Linked DNA regions of Homo sapiens: all the other regions are linked to region 1. The links are contacts of gene promoters, found by promoter capture Hi-C in human tissues and cell types (Jung and others, 2019). All regions are on one chromosome and are shown on one strand. The core of a region is centred on a gene start or on the middle of the fragment in contact, and the rest is flanking DNA. Distances in the headings are between cores, read along the strand shown. Region 1 holds the start of SOX21 (SRY-box transcription factor 21). Region 2 overlaps LOC124903193 (a long non-coding RNA gene). Region 3 has its middle 33 kb from the start of ABCC4.

Region 1 (3,975 bases), core at 495-2,994:
AGCACTGAGTGATTGGTACGTTTTACTTCTCTCTTCCAGGGAAACTACTTACACTTATTGATTTTAAACACCTTCACCTCAGCAGCGCATGTAAGTGAGACACTGTAAGTTAACTGTACCTTAAAGAGATCAGTATATAGATGGTTCTGGCGACCAAGATTACAACAAAAGACAAACAACACAGAATTTTTAAAGAGCTGAATAGTCAGTCAAGGATGCATACTCTCAGTCTGGGCTAGCTCTTTTTTGGAAAGGTTGCCAAGAATGTCCTTATTCCCTCCAGAGTTATTTTTCACTCCACTACCTCTGACTAGGTGCATCGCCAGTGCAAGAAAATGCGAGAAGCCTCTGTTTCTGTTGCAAGCAACACCTGGACCTCCAAGGAAAATGAGCACTTTCTTGCTAGGAACAGTCTCAAACATTTTCAAGGGTGAGTCTCCCCTTCTCCAGGTTTAACCCTCTTCCTCCGTAGCTGGAGAGGCTCTCCTACTCGTGCCCGCCGCCTTCTTCCTCCCGGCGAGGATTCCAGGGCCACAACCAGGGCAGCTGCACGCCAGGCCGGCCTGGGTAGCCGGGATGACACCAGGGTTTGCCAACGCCAAACAGGGCGCAGACTCCCCGGCGCGCTCCGGACTCTCCACTCGCCTAAACCTGCTCTCAAGTGAAAAGGAGTGGGAGGAGGAGGATTGGGAGGGGGCGGGGGGCGGAGGGGATCTGTTAATTCGAGGTCCTGGGGGTGTGGGAGCGGGAGGCGGCTCCGCTGATCCCTCCTCCCTCCCCGAGTCCTGGGCTCCACCTCCTCCGCAGGCCCCCAGATATACACACACAGCCGCGGCTGGACATGCACACCCAGTGCCGGCTCCGGGCGCGCACACATGCAGGTAGCCACACTCACCTGAGCCGGTGCAGAGGGCGGCCTGGGCTGGGAAGGGGCCCCCTGCGCCGCGGGAGTGGGGAGAGCGGGAGGTGCCACAGCGCGGACCTGCGAACTGAGGTGATGGCCCGTTTTCCTTAACTCTCCTGCAGCACCTCCGCCCCTGCGCCGGCTCGGCTCTGGCCACAGCAGCGAGGACAGAGGGGCCCCGGGCGCGGCGGACTCGCGGGCGCACGCTCCCAGGAGCGCGCCGAGAGGGGCGCCGCGGCGCAGGAAACTTGGGCGAAGTTAGTTGCAAGTGCCAGGCGGCTGCCGAGAAGAGCGAGGCGGGGACGCGGCCGGTGCCAGGCCTGCGGCGCCGCGTGGAGGCTGCGCTGCCCTCCGCGGCCGGCGAGCTCCGGGAGCCCTAAGTCGGCAGGCGCGCCTGAAGGGGCTCGGAGCGAACAGAGCCGGCATGGCCCAGGGGACGGCCGGACGCGGCTCCTCGGCGAGCCGGGAGAACTTCCTCTGAGGCCGGGCGACCAACGCTTGCTCAAGCCTCATCCACCCTCCTTCCTCGCCCCACCCGTCAGTCCAGCAGCGGGAGAGGAAGACTCGAGAGGCAGGTGCTGCGGGGGACAGCTCCCCCCTCCAAAAAAAAAAAATCACCCAGCCGATTGGGGGTTTCCCATCGGCGCACCCTGCCCGGAGCCAAGAAGACAGGCTGGTGCTGCTGTATTTGTATTTATATCCATTGCTGCGCTCTGCGTTCTCGTGGCACGCCTGGACACTCCTCCGCCTCCCCCTCCTCTTCCTCCTCCAGGGCCACCTCCCCGCCTTCCCCACCCCCATCTGCTTCTGTCAAATGAGAAAGTCACCGAGGAGAACCCAAACACTCCAGCCGCTGAGAGCCCCCTTTGGCACTTGGCAGCACGCGGCGGCGGGCTCCTCGGCTCAACTTCGAGGAGTCTCCGCGACGCAACTTTTGGGGACGCTTTGCATTTAAGAGAGAACGACCGAGGAGGAGGAGCGCTCTGCCCGGCCGCCGCTACCTGCGGGGAGCTCACCAGCAAACGCCACTGCAGACGAAGGACCCAAAGAACGTAAAGGGCAAACTGCCGCCGCGGGGAGGGGGCACCGCCGAGAAGTTAGAGTGTCCCAGAGACAACCTGCTCGAGCGCTCGGCCGGAGACACTAAGGCGGCCCGGGGCGCGGCGTGGCCCTGGGCTGGTCCCCCAGCCCCCTCCTCCGGGGCGGGAGCGACGCCGGGGCGCGACGAGCCCCGGCCGGCCGAGCGGGTCTCCGCGGGCAGCCAACATTGATTTCCTCCGGGCCGAGGGCGAGGGCCCGGGAGGCGGCGGGCTGCAGCCGCGGCAGGGCGAGAGCATGTCCAAGCCGGTGGACCACGTCAAGCGGCCCATGAACGCCTTCATGGTGTGGTCGCGGGCTCAGCGGCGCAAGATGGCCCAGGAGAACCCCAAGATGCACAACTCGGAGATCAGCAAGCGCTTGGGCGCCGAGTGGAAACTGCTCACAGAGTCGGAGAAGCGGCCGTTCATCGACGAGGCCAAGCGTCTACGCGCCATGCACATGAAGGAGCACCCCGACTACAAGTACCGGCCGCGGCGCAAGCCCAAGACGCTGCTCAAGAAGGACAAGTTCGCCTTCCCGGTGCCCTACGGCCTGGGCGGCGTGGCGGACGCCGAGCACCCTGCGCTCAAGGCGGGCGCCGGGCTGCACGCGGGGGCGGGCGGCGGCCTGGTGCCTGAGTCGCTGCTCGCCAATCCCGAGAAGGCGGCCGCGGCCGCCGCCGCTGCCGCCGCACGCGTCTTCTTCCCGCAGTCGGCCGCTGCCGCCGCCGCTGCCGCCGCCGCCGCCGCCGCGGGCAGCCCCTACTCGCTGCTCGACCTGGGCTCCAAAATGGCAGAGATCTCGTCGTCCTCGTCCGGCCTCCCGTACGCGTCGTCGCTGGGCTACCCGACCGCGGGCGCGGGCGCCTTCCACGGCGCGGCGGCGGCGGCTGCAGCGGCGGCCGCCGCCGCCGGGGGGCACACGCACTCGCACCCCAGCCCGGGCAACCCGGGCTACATGATCCCGTGCAACTGCAGCGCGTGGCCCAGCCCCGGGCTGCAGCCGCCGCTCGCCTACATCCTGCTGCCGGGCATGGGCAAGCCCCAGCTGGACCCCTACCCCGCGGCCTACGCTGCCGCGCTATGACCCCGCGGGGCCGCCTCGCGAGGACCGGTGTGCACACGTGTACATATGTATAGGTACGAGCGCTGCGGCCTCCCCGTGCGCCCTCCCGCGACCGGGGGCCCGGTTTGTATGTACATAGAATGTATAGGTGCCAGGTAGAGGCAGAGAGGCCAGGCGGGGCAGGAGTGGCCAAGCGCGCAAGGGCGCGGGCGAGCAGGCCTGTGAATTCGCAGGATCATTTCAGACCCGCACTTCGGCAGCCAACTCGAAAGCAGGCGGTTGTGTGCGGCAGCAGTTGGCGTTTGCTTTGCACTTCGGAACCTGTTGCGTTTTGACCCACGGAGGTGGAGGAGTAACTTTTTGACATGTTGGCCTTTCCAGTTTTGTTGGAAGTTTCATGGTCGGTTTTGTTTTTGTTTCTCATTCTTCTTCCTCGCCCCTCAGCCCCCCAACCCCCAACCCCCTCCCGGTCCGTGTTGCATGCACGCTGTTCAAATGTGAGGTCTGAAATGGCTGGCACACGGGAAAAGCTGCTTGTGTCATTCGTTTCTGGGAGTGGGATGGCTCTGAGCAGCCTCGCCTCCCTGTTTGTACTATTTGAACTTTGCAGATCTCTGTTCTCTCAAGCAGAACTCCCAACCAGATCCATTCTTGACCAGTGACCGGCTCGAATCTGGCCTTTTGTGTGAGATGATCACGGTTTCTTTTGTTTATCACGCCATTTGCAAATCAGAGCAAGAGCTCTTTCTCAAGGGCAAGAAACGCAAACAAGAAATATTTGTGAGATGAAAGTTGTCAATTGGATTTTCTTCCTAAACAAACAACAACAACAAACTACTAGAAGTCTCCCTGAGTCCACTCGCTTGGATTTCTGACACAGTTTACAAAAAAGGAAAAAGGCACTGCTCCTATTTTCCCTTATGGCT
Region 2 (3,975 bases), core at 604-3,103, 690 kb before region 1:
ATTTCACCCCAAAATAGATTTCCTTGACATGGTACAACATGGCTATTCAGAAGGTCTGGAAATAAAGGAAAAGCTGCAAAGCTACCCTTTGTTGGGGAGATTTGCACCTGTAGAGAAAATCCACACGGGTGCAACCAGGCTTTCCCTGAGGCCTTCCATTGTCCAATCTGGGAAAGATGAACTGAGAGTCCGACACCTTTAAACATCTGAAAAGAACATTCACCATCTCTTCTCTCTGAGAGCTGCTACCTGTGAGATTTCATCTACATAACAAGATGACCTTTGTAAGCCAAGCCCCCTCTTCTCTCCTTCCCATAACCTGTCTGGTCTTGCTCCAAGCCCTCGTTTTTTCTGAAACCTCAAGATGGTTACAGAAAAGCATCAACCAGGCTGGGCAAGGTGGGACCATAATCCCAGCACTTTGGAAGGCCAAGGTGGGAGGATTGCTTGAAGCCAGGAGTTTGAGACCAGCCTGGGCAACAAAGTAAGACTCCGTCTCTACAAAAAAAAAAAAAAATATATATATATATATATGTATACATATATACATATATATATGTATATATGTATACATATATATATCACACATATATACACATATATATGTATATATATATGCAACATGACAAAACCCCATCTCTACTAAAAATATAAAAATTAGCCCAGTGTGCTGGTGCATGCCTGTAGTCCCAGCTACTTGGGAGGCTGAAGTGGGAGGATTTCTTGAGCCCGGAGGTTGAGGCTGCAATGAGCCATGGTCAAGCCACTGCACTCCAGCCTGGGTGACAGAGTGAGACCCTGTCTCAGAAACAAACAAACAAACAAAAAATTAGCCAGATGTGATGGTGTGCACCTGTGGTCCCAGCTATTCAAGAGGCTGAGGTGGGAGGATCGCTTGAGCACAGGAGTTCAAAGATCCAGTGAGCTATGATCGCACCACTGCACTTCAGCCTGGGTGATGGAGTGAGACTCCATCTCTAAAAAAATAGCTATTAAATTAAAAAAAAAACTTTTAAAAAAGAAGCATCAGCCATCCAGCCATGTATCTGAGGTCTTACGACTCCCATGCATATTAATGAATTTGTATGCCTTCTCTGTTCTTAACCTGCTTTTTGTCAGTTGACTTTTCCATGAGCCTTCAGAGGGTGAAGGGGAAGCTTGCCCTTGGCCCCTAAAGTACTGTGGGTTTTGTCTGAGAATTACCCAGAGGTCAGGGCACAGGTGGACACAGGGAACTCCATGCTGTATCCCCTGTGGTCTGAGGTCTACCTGAAGCTGGATGCCAAGGCCCTTGCCAGGGTAGGGGTGGGCTCCCCAAGATCACCAAGGAAAAGCCCAGAACTACTTCCTTTCCTTTCCAGTCCAACACACCCAGAATTCTCCCTCTTAAAGACTTGGTTCAGGCCAGGTGCGGTGGCTCACACCTATAATCCCAGCACTTTGGGAGACGGAGGCAGGTGGATCACTTGAGGTCAGAAGTTCAAGACCAGCGTGGCCAACATGGTGAAACCCCATCTCTACTAAAAATACAAAAATTAGCCGGGTGTGGTGGCAGGCGCCTGTAATCCTAGCTACTCTGGAGGCTGAGGCATAAGAATTGCTTGAATCCAGGAGGTGGAGTTTGCAGTCAGCTGAGATCGTGCCACTGCACTCCAGCCTGAGTGACAAAGTGAGGCTCCGTCTCAAAAAAAAAAAAAAGACTTGGTTCAAATGGAAGCTATGCCTATAGTACACAGCTGTATGTATCTGTGTGTAGGTGTCTTCAAAGTACGTTTTTTTTTAATTAAAAAAAAGTTTTTGAGACAGGATTTCACTCTGTTCCTCAGGCTGCGAGTGCAGTGGCACGATCACAACTCACTGCAGCCTTGACCTCCTGAGCTCAGCAATCCTCCCACCTCGGCCTTCTGAGGAGCTGGAACTACAGGCACACACCACCATGCCCAGCTAATATTTTCATTTTTCATAAATATAGGGTCTCACTATGTTGCCCAGGCTGGCCTTGAACTCCTGGGCTCAAGCGATCCTCCCACCTGGGCCTCCCAAAGTATTGGGAACATAAGTTACCAAGTTAGTTCCTTTAAAAATATTTTTTGAGTCACTGTGCCTGGCCCAAAATATGTTTTTAAAGGAGCTAACTTGGGCTGGGCGCGGTGGCTCACACCTGTAATCCTACCACTTTGGGAGGTCAAGGTGGGCAGATCACTTGAGGTCAGGAGTTCGAGACCAGCCTGGCCAACATGGTAAAAACCCATCTTTACTAAATATACAAAAATTAGCCCGGCATGGTGGTGCACGCCTGTAATCCCAGCTACTCAGGAGGCAGAGGCAGGAGAATCACTTGAACCCAGGAGGCAGAGGTTGCAGTGAGCCAGGATGGTGCCACTGCACTCCAGCCTGGGCAACAGAGAGAGAATGTGTCTCAAAAATAAAAAATAAATAAAATAAAGGAGCTAACTTGGTAGCTTAACCAGAAATTATTGAGCAAAGCACAACTTTATTTAATCCTTTGTTCAAATCACAAATTCAAAATAGTGATATTATTGTAAGCTCTTCAAATTTGGACGAGAGCAAACCTCTTGGGGATTTCGACATCCTTTCTCACTAATAGTTAAACAAGACCTTTTTTTTTTTTTTTGAGATGGACTTTTGTTCTGTCACCCAGGTTAGAGTGCAGTAGCACAATCTCTGCTCACTGCAGCCTCTGCCTCCTGGGTTCAAGCGATTCTCCTGTCTCAGCCTCCTGAGTAGTTGGGACTACAGGCATGTGACACCACACCCAGCTAATTTTTGTATTTTTAGTAGAGACAGGGTTTCACCATGTTGGCCAGGCTGGTCTCGAACTCCTGACCTCAGGTGATCCACCTGCCTAGGCCTCCCAAAGTGTTGGGATTACAGTTGTGAGCCACCATGCCCAGCCACAAGTCCTTTTTCTTTAACTTGTATTTTAGGTTTGGGGTACATGTGAAGATTTGTTGTATAAGCGAACTGGTGTCATGGGGGTTTGTTGTACAGATTATTAAGTCTCTTTTAGGAGGCTGTTGTAGTTCTGTAGGTGAAAGATGATGGCAGCCCAGGACATGTGGTGGCAATAGAGAGAGGCAGAGTTAAGACAGTTTGAGGCTGAATTTAATTTAAAATGTTTCCATTAAAAAGATAGAAGCTGGGTGCAGTAGCTTACACCTGTAATCCCAGCACTTTGGGAGGCCGAGGTGGGTGGATCACCAGGGCAACTTGGTTAGCTAGGTGTGGTGGTGGGCGCCTGTAATCCCAGCTACTCAGGAGGCTGAGGCAGGAGAATCACTTGAACCTGGGAGGCGGAGGTTGCAGTGAGCTGAGATTGCACCATTGCACTCTAGCCTGGGTGACAGAGTGAGACTCCGTCTCAAAAAAGAAAGAAAGAAAGAAACTTAAGAAAGAAACAGACGTAAGGCAGTGACCAAAGAGGGTTGTACATTTAAAAGAGTTTGTTTCTGTTTTAAGACAAGAAAAACTTCTCCATGTTTGTGTGCTCATGGGTATGATTCAGGAAAAGGGAAGAATGTGATGATGCAGAAGAGAGATTGGGGAAAATGGAAAAAAAGCCAAACTATTTTTTTTTTTTTTTGAGACAGAGTCTCGCTCTGTTGCCCAGGCTGGGAGTGCAATGGCGTGATCTCGGCTCACTGCAACCTCTGCCAACTGAATTCAAGCGATTCTCCTGTCTCAGTCTCCCTAGTAGTTGGGATTACAGGCATCTGCTACCATGTCTGGCTAATTTTTTGTACTTTTAGTAGAGATGGGATTTCGCCATATTGGCCAGACTGGTCTCGAACTCCTGACCTCAAGTGATCCGCCTGCCTCAGCCTCCCAAAGTGCTGAGATTACAGGCTTGAGCCACCGCATTTGGCCTTTCTTTCTTTCTTTTTTAGAAAAAGCCAAACTCTGAACAGGCGAGAAGGAGTGGGATTCCTATTGGGAGCTTTTGTGGAGGCAATG
Region 3 (3,975 bases), core at 861-3,360, 620 kb before region 1:
TGCCACCCACACCAGTAAGGATTCCACCTAGGCACTGCTCTTTGCAGCACTCGTTTCTGAGTCAAAATCCTATGTGGGACTGGTCCGATGGTAGTGGGTTATCAGAACTTATTAACATTCATGTCCCTAAGGTTGGTATACAGCCTACCACTGCTAAATTTGACTGGCTTAATAAAATAAAAAAAAAAAATAAAATAAGGAAAATCCTACATGGGTAAGTCCAATTGGCAGAGTATGGGCTTTGGGCAGGTATCTGACTTAGCTGTAAGGCTGGAAAAGACAGTATCCAGCTCCCACAGAGGTGAGCAACCCCAGTATCCCAAGAACCAAAAGCACGGGAGTTCCCGAATGGATTAAGGGTGTTTTGAGGTTGGGTGGCCAACAAGAACAACAAATGCCACTCTTGTTACTCATCCATGTGAATTAATATAAGGCAAAGTAGTGCCTCTCCCAGGGGTAGCCACATTCAATCTGTCTTTAACTATGGAATGAAAGGCCTTGCTTCTTGAGTCCTTTAAGATAGCCGGGCAGGCTGGGCACGGTGGCGCATGCCTGTAATCCCAACATTTTGGGAGGCTGAGGCCGGTAGATCACCTGAGGTCAGGAGTTCACAACCAGCCTGAGTAACATGGTGAAACCCTGTCTCTACTAAATACAAAAAAAAAATAGCCGGGCGTGGTGGCACATGCCTGTAATCTGAGCTACTTGGGAGGCTGAAACAGGAGACTCGCTTGTACCCAGGAGGCAGAGGTTGCAGTGAGCCGAGATTGTGCCATTGCACTCCAGCCTGGGCAATAAAAGCGAAACCCCGTCTAAAAAAAAAAAAGAGAGAAAAAGCCGGGCATGGTGGCTCACGCCTGTAATCCCAGCACTTTGGGAGGCCAAGGCAGGCAGATCATTTGAGGTCAGGAGTTTGAGACCAGCCTGGTCAACATGGTGAAGCCTCGTCTCTACTGAAAATACAAAAATTAGCTGGGCGTGGTGGTGTGCACCTATAATCCTAGTTACTGGGGAGGCTGAGGCAGGAGAATCCCTTGAACCTGGAAGATGGAGGCTGCAGTGAGCCAAGATCATGCCATTGCACTCCAGCCTGGGTGACAGAGATAGTCTCAAAAAAAAAAAAAAAAGCCTAACATTAGCTAGTGAGAATGCTGTTGGTGGTATTGAGGTGTGCAGTTTTCATTTATTTATTTATTTTTGAGACAGGACCTTACTGTGTTACCCAGGCTGGTCTCAACATCCTAGGCTCAAGTGATCCTCCTACTTCAGCCTCTGGAGTAGCTGGGACCACAGGTGTGCACCATCACACCTGGCTAACTTTTTAATTTTTTGAAGAGATGGAGTCTCCCTATGTTGCCCAGACTGGTCTTGAACTCCTGAACTCAAGTGATCCTCCTACCTCGGCTTCCCAAAGTGTTGAGATTACAGGCATGAGCCACCACACCCAGCTAGCATTTGGGTATTGATACCAGAAGCTTTCCTGGTATTGAAAAGCATACTCATCTATGAAAAGTTCTGGAAATGGATAGAGGTGATGGTTGTACAACATTGTGAATGTACTTAATGCTACAGAATTGTACACCTAAAATGGCTAAAATGGTGAATTTTTTTTTTTTTTTTTTGAGACAGAGTCTCACTCTGTCACCCAGGCTGGAGTGCAGTGGTATGATCTTGGCTCACTGCAACCTCTGCCTCCGGGTTCAAGCAATTCTCCTGCCTCAGCCTCCCAAGTAGCTTGGATTACAGGCATGTGCCACCACGCCCGGCTAATTTGTGTATTTTTGGTAGAGATGTGGTTTCACCATGCTGGCCAGGCTGGTCTCGAACTCCTGACCTCAAGTGATCCACTGCCTCAGCCTCCCAAAGTGCTAGGATTATAGGTGTGAGCCACCACACCCGGCCATAAAATGATGAATTCTATGTTACATATATTTTATCTTTTTTTTTTTTTTTTACAAAACACACTAAATGGAACCACCCTACTTGCCCCAGTGCTGGCCTTACACGTGGGGCCCATGGGGCACAGCAGCTATACCACATACCTCCTCTTCCACAGGCCTGCCCACAGGCCACAGGTTGGCCCAGGGTGTCCCTTGGTACCATGGTCACTGCACTAGAGTAGAACTCCCTAGATTTCCTTCAACTCTATTCACATTTGACAGGCATCCATGAATGACAACAATAATTAGCTGTTCAAATCCTGTGTTACTTACTGTGTAACCTTGGGCAAGTTGTCTAACTTCTTGAAGATTCCGTTTCCCCATTTAAAATGTAGGGACAATTATAACACCCATTTCTTAGGGTTGTTGTAACAAGTTGACAGGTGTAGAGTGTTTAACACAATGCTGAGCACATAATCAGTGCACAATAAGGTTACCTATTATTAGTATTATTATTTTTTCTTCTATAAACTAGCACCAGGCTCACACCTGTAATCCCAGCACTTTGGGAGGCTGAGGCAGGAAGATCGCTTGAGCTCAGGAGTTTGAGACCAGCTGGGCCAATATGGCAAAGCCCTGTCTCTACTAAAAAAAAAAAAAACACAAAAATCAACCAGGTGTGGTGGCACATGCCTGTAATAGCAGCTACTCAGGAGGTTGAGGCACGAGAATCACTTGAACCTGGGAGGCAGAGGCTGCAGTGAGTTGAGATTGCGCTACTGCACTCCAGGCCAGGTGACAGAGGAAGATTCCGTCTCTAAATAAATAAATAAATAAATAAACTAGCACCAGAGTTTTAAGATTTTCCTTCTCTTAAAGGATAAATTGGTGGCTCACGCCTGTAATCCCAGCACTTTGGGAGGCCGAGGTGGGTGGATCACCTGAGGTCTGGAGTTCGAGACCAGCCTGTCCAACATGGTGAAACCCCATCTCTACAAAAAAAATTAGCTGGGCATGATGGTGCGTGCCTGTAATCCCAGCTACTCGGGAGGCTGAGGTGGGAGAATTGCTTGAACCAGGGAAGCGGAGGTTCCAGTGAGCTGAGATCACGCCATTGCACCCAGCCTGGGTGACAGAGCGAGACTCCATCTCAAAAAAAAAAAAAAAAAGCCTGGGTGAGGTGGCTCACGCCTGTAATCCCAGCACTTTGGGAGGCCGAGGTGGGCGGATCATGAGGTCAGGAGATCGAGACCATACTGGCTAACACAGTGAAACCCTGTCTTTACTAAAAATACAAAAAAATTAGCTGGGCATGGTGGCGGGCACCTGTAGTCCCAGCTACTCAGGAGGCTGAGGAAGGAGAATGGCATGAACCCAGGAGGCGGAGCTTGCAGTGAGCCGAGATTGTGCCACTGCACTCCAGCCTGGGTGACAGAGTGAGATTCTGTCTCAAAAAAAAAAATAAAGATAAGTTGGTTATCTGTTGCTGTATGACAAATATATTAGTTAGGGTACTCCAGAGAAACAGATCCAATGGTGGGGGTAGGAGAGGGAGAGAGAGAGAGAAATTTGTTGTAGGAATTGGCTCATGCAATTATGGAGGTCAAGAAATTCCATAGTCTGCCACTTGAAAGCTGGAGAACCAGGAATGCCAGTGGAGTAGTGCCAGCCTGAGTCTGAAGGCCTGAGAATAGGGACAGGGCAGGAGCAATGGTGTGAATCCCAGTCTAAGTTCAAACGCGCGGAGAATCAGGAGCACTGATATCTGCGGGCAGGAGAAGATGGATGTCTCAGCTCACACAGAGACAGCAAAGTTGCCCTTCCTCCACTTTTTTCTTCTATTTGGGCCCTCAGTGAGTTGGAAGGTGCCCACCCATGTTGGTGAAGGTGACCTTCCTTACTCAGTCTACTAATGCCAAGGAAAATATTTTCTGGAAACACCCTAACAGACACACCCAGAAATAATATTTTACCACCTATTGGGGCATCCTTTAGCCCAATCAAGTTGACACATAATTTTTTTTTTTTTTAGACGGGGTTTCGCTCTTTCGCACAGGCTGGAGTGAAGTGGCACAATCTTGGCTCACTGCAACCT

The links. Contacts are between HindIII fragments. The study calls those that stand out against the background at their distance.
Region 2: a fragment that was not itself captured here is called in contact with the fragment with the promoter of SOX21 in region 1 in 1 of the 25 tissues and cell types used here (lymphoblastoid cells).
Region 3: a fragment that was not itself captured here is called in contact with the fragment with the promoter of SOX21 in region 1 in 1 of the 25 tissues and cell types used here (lymphoblastoid cells).

The regions. Positions count from the first base shown.
Region 1 is chr13:94,710,314-94,714,288 of GRCh38, reverse strand. It overlaps SOX21 (SRY-box transcription factor 21), which reads left to right and starts at 1,744. Exons shown (of 1, transcript NM_007084.4): 1 at 1,744-3,975. The coding sequence starts at 2,240. The coding sequence ends at 3,070. SOX21-AS1 (SOX21 antisense RNA 1) reads right to left here and starts at 1,573. Exons shown (of 2, transcript NR_046514.1): 1 at 896-1,573; 2 at 1-651. LOC112268114 (a long non-coding RNA gene) reads left to right here and starts at 846. Exons shown (of 2, transcript NR_158368.1): 1 at 846-881; 2 at 1,027-1,569. RefSeq lists an enhancer at 519-1,020. The HindIII fragment of the contact is 11,141 bases long and covers 1-3,975 here.
Region 2 is chr13:95,397,680-95,401,654 of GRCh38, reverse strand. The region is part of intron 1 of LOC124903193 (a long non-coding RNA gene); the gene reads left to right. Among named protein-coding and RNA genes, the nearest start is that of ABCC4, 98 kb to the right of the region's middle. The HindIII fragment of the contact is 4,621 bases long and covers 1-3,975 here.
Region 3 is chr13:95,332,304-95,336,278 of GRCh38, reverse strand. It overlaps the pseudogene RNY4P27. Among named protein-coding and RNA genes, the nearest start is that of ABCC4, 33 kb to the right of the region's middle. The HindIII fragment of the contact is 3,544 bases long and covers 339-3,882 here.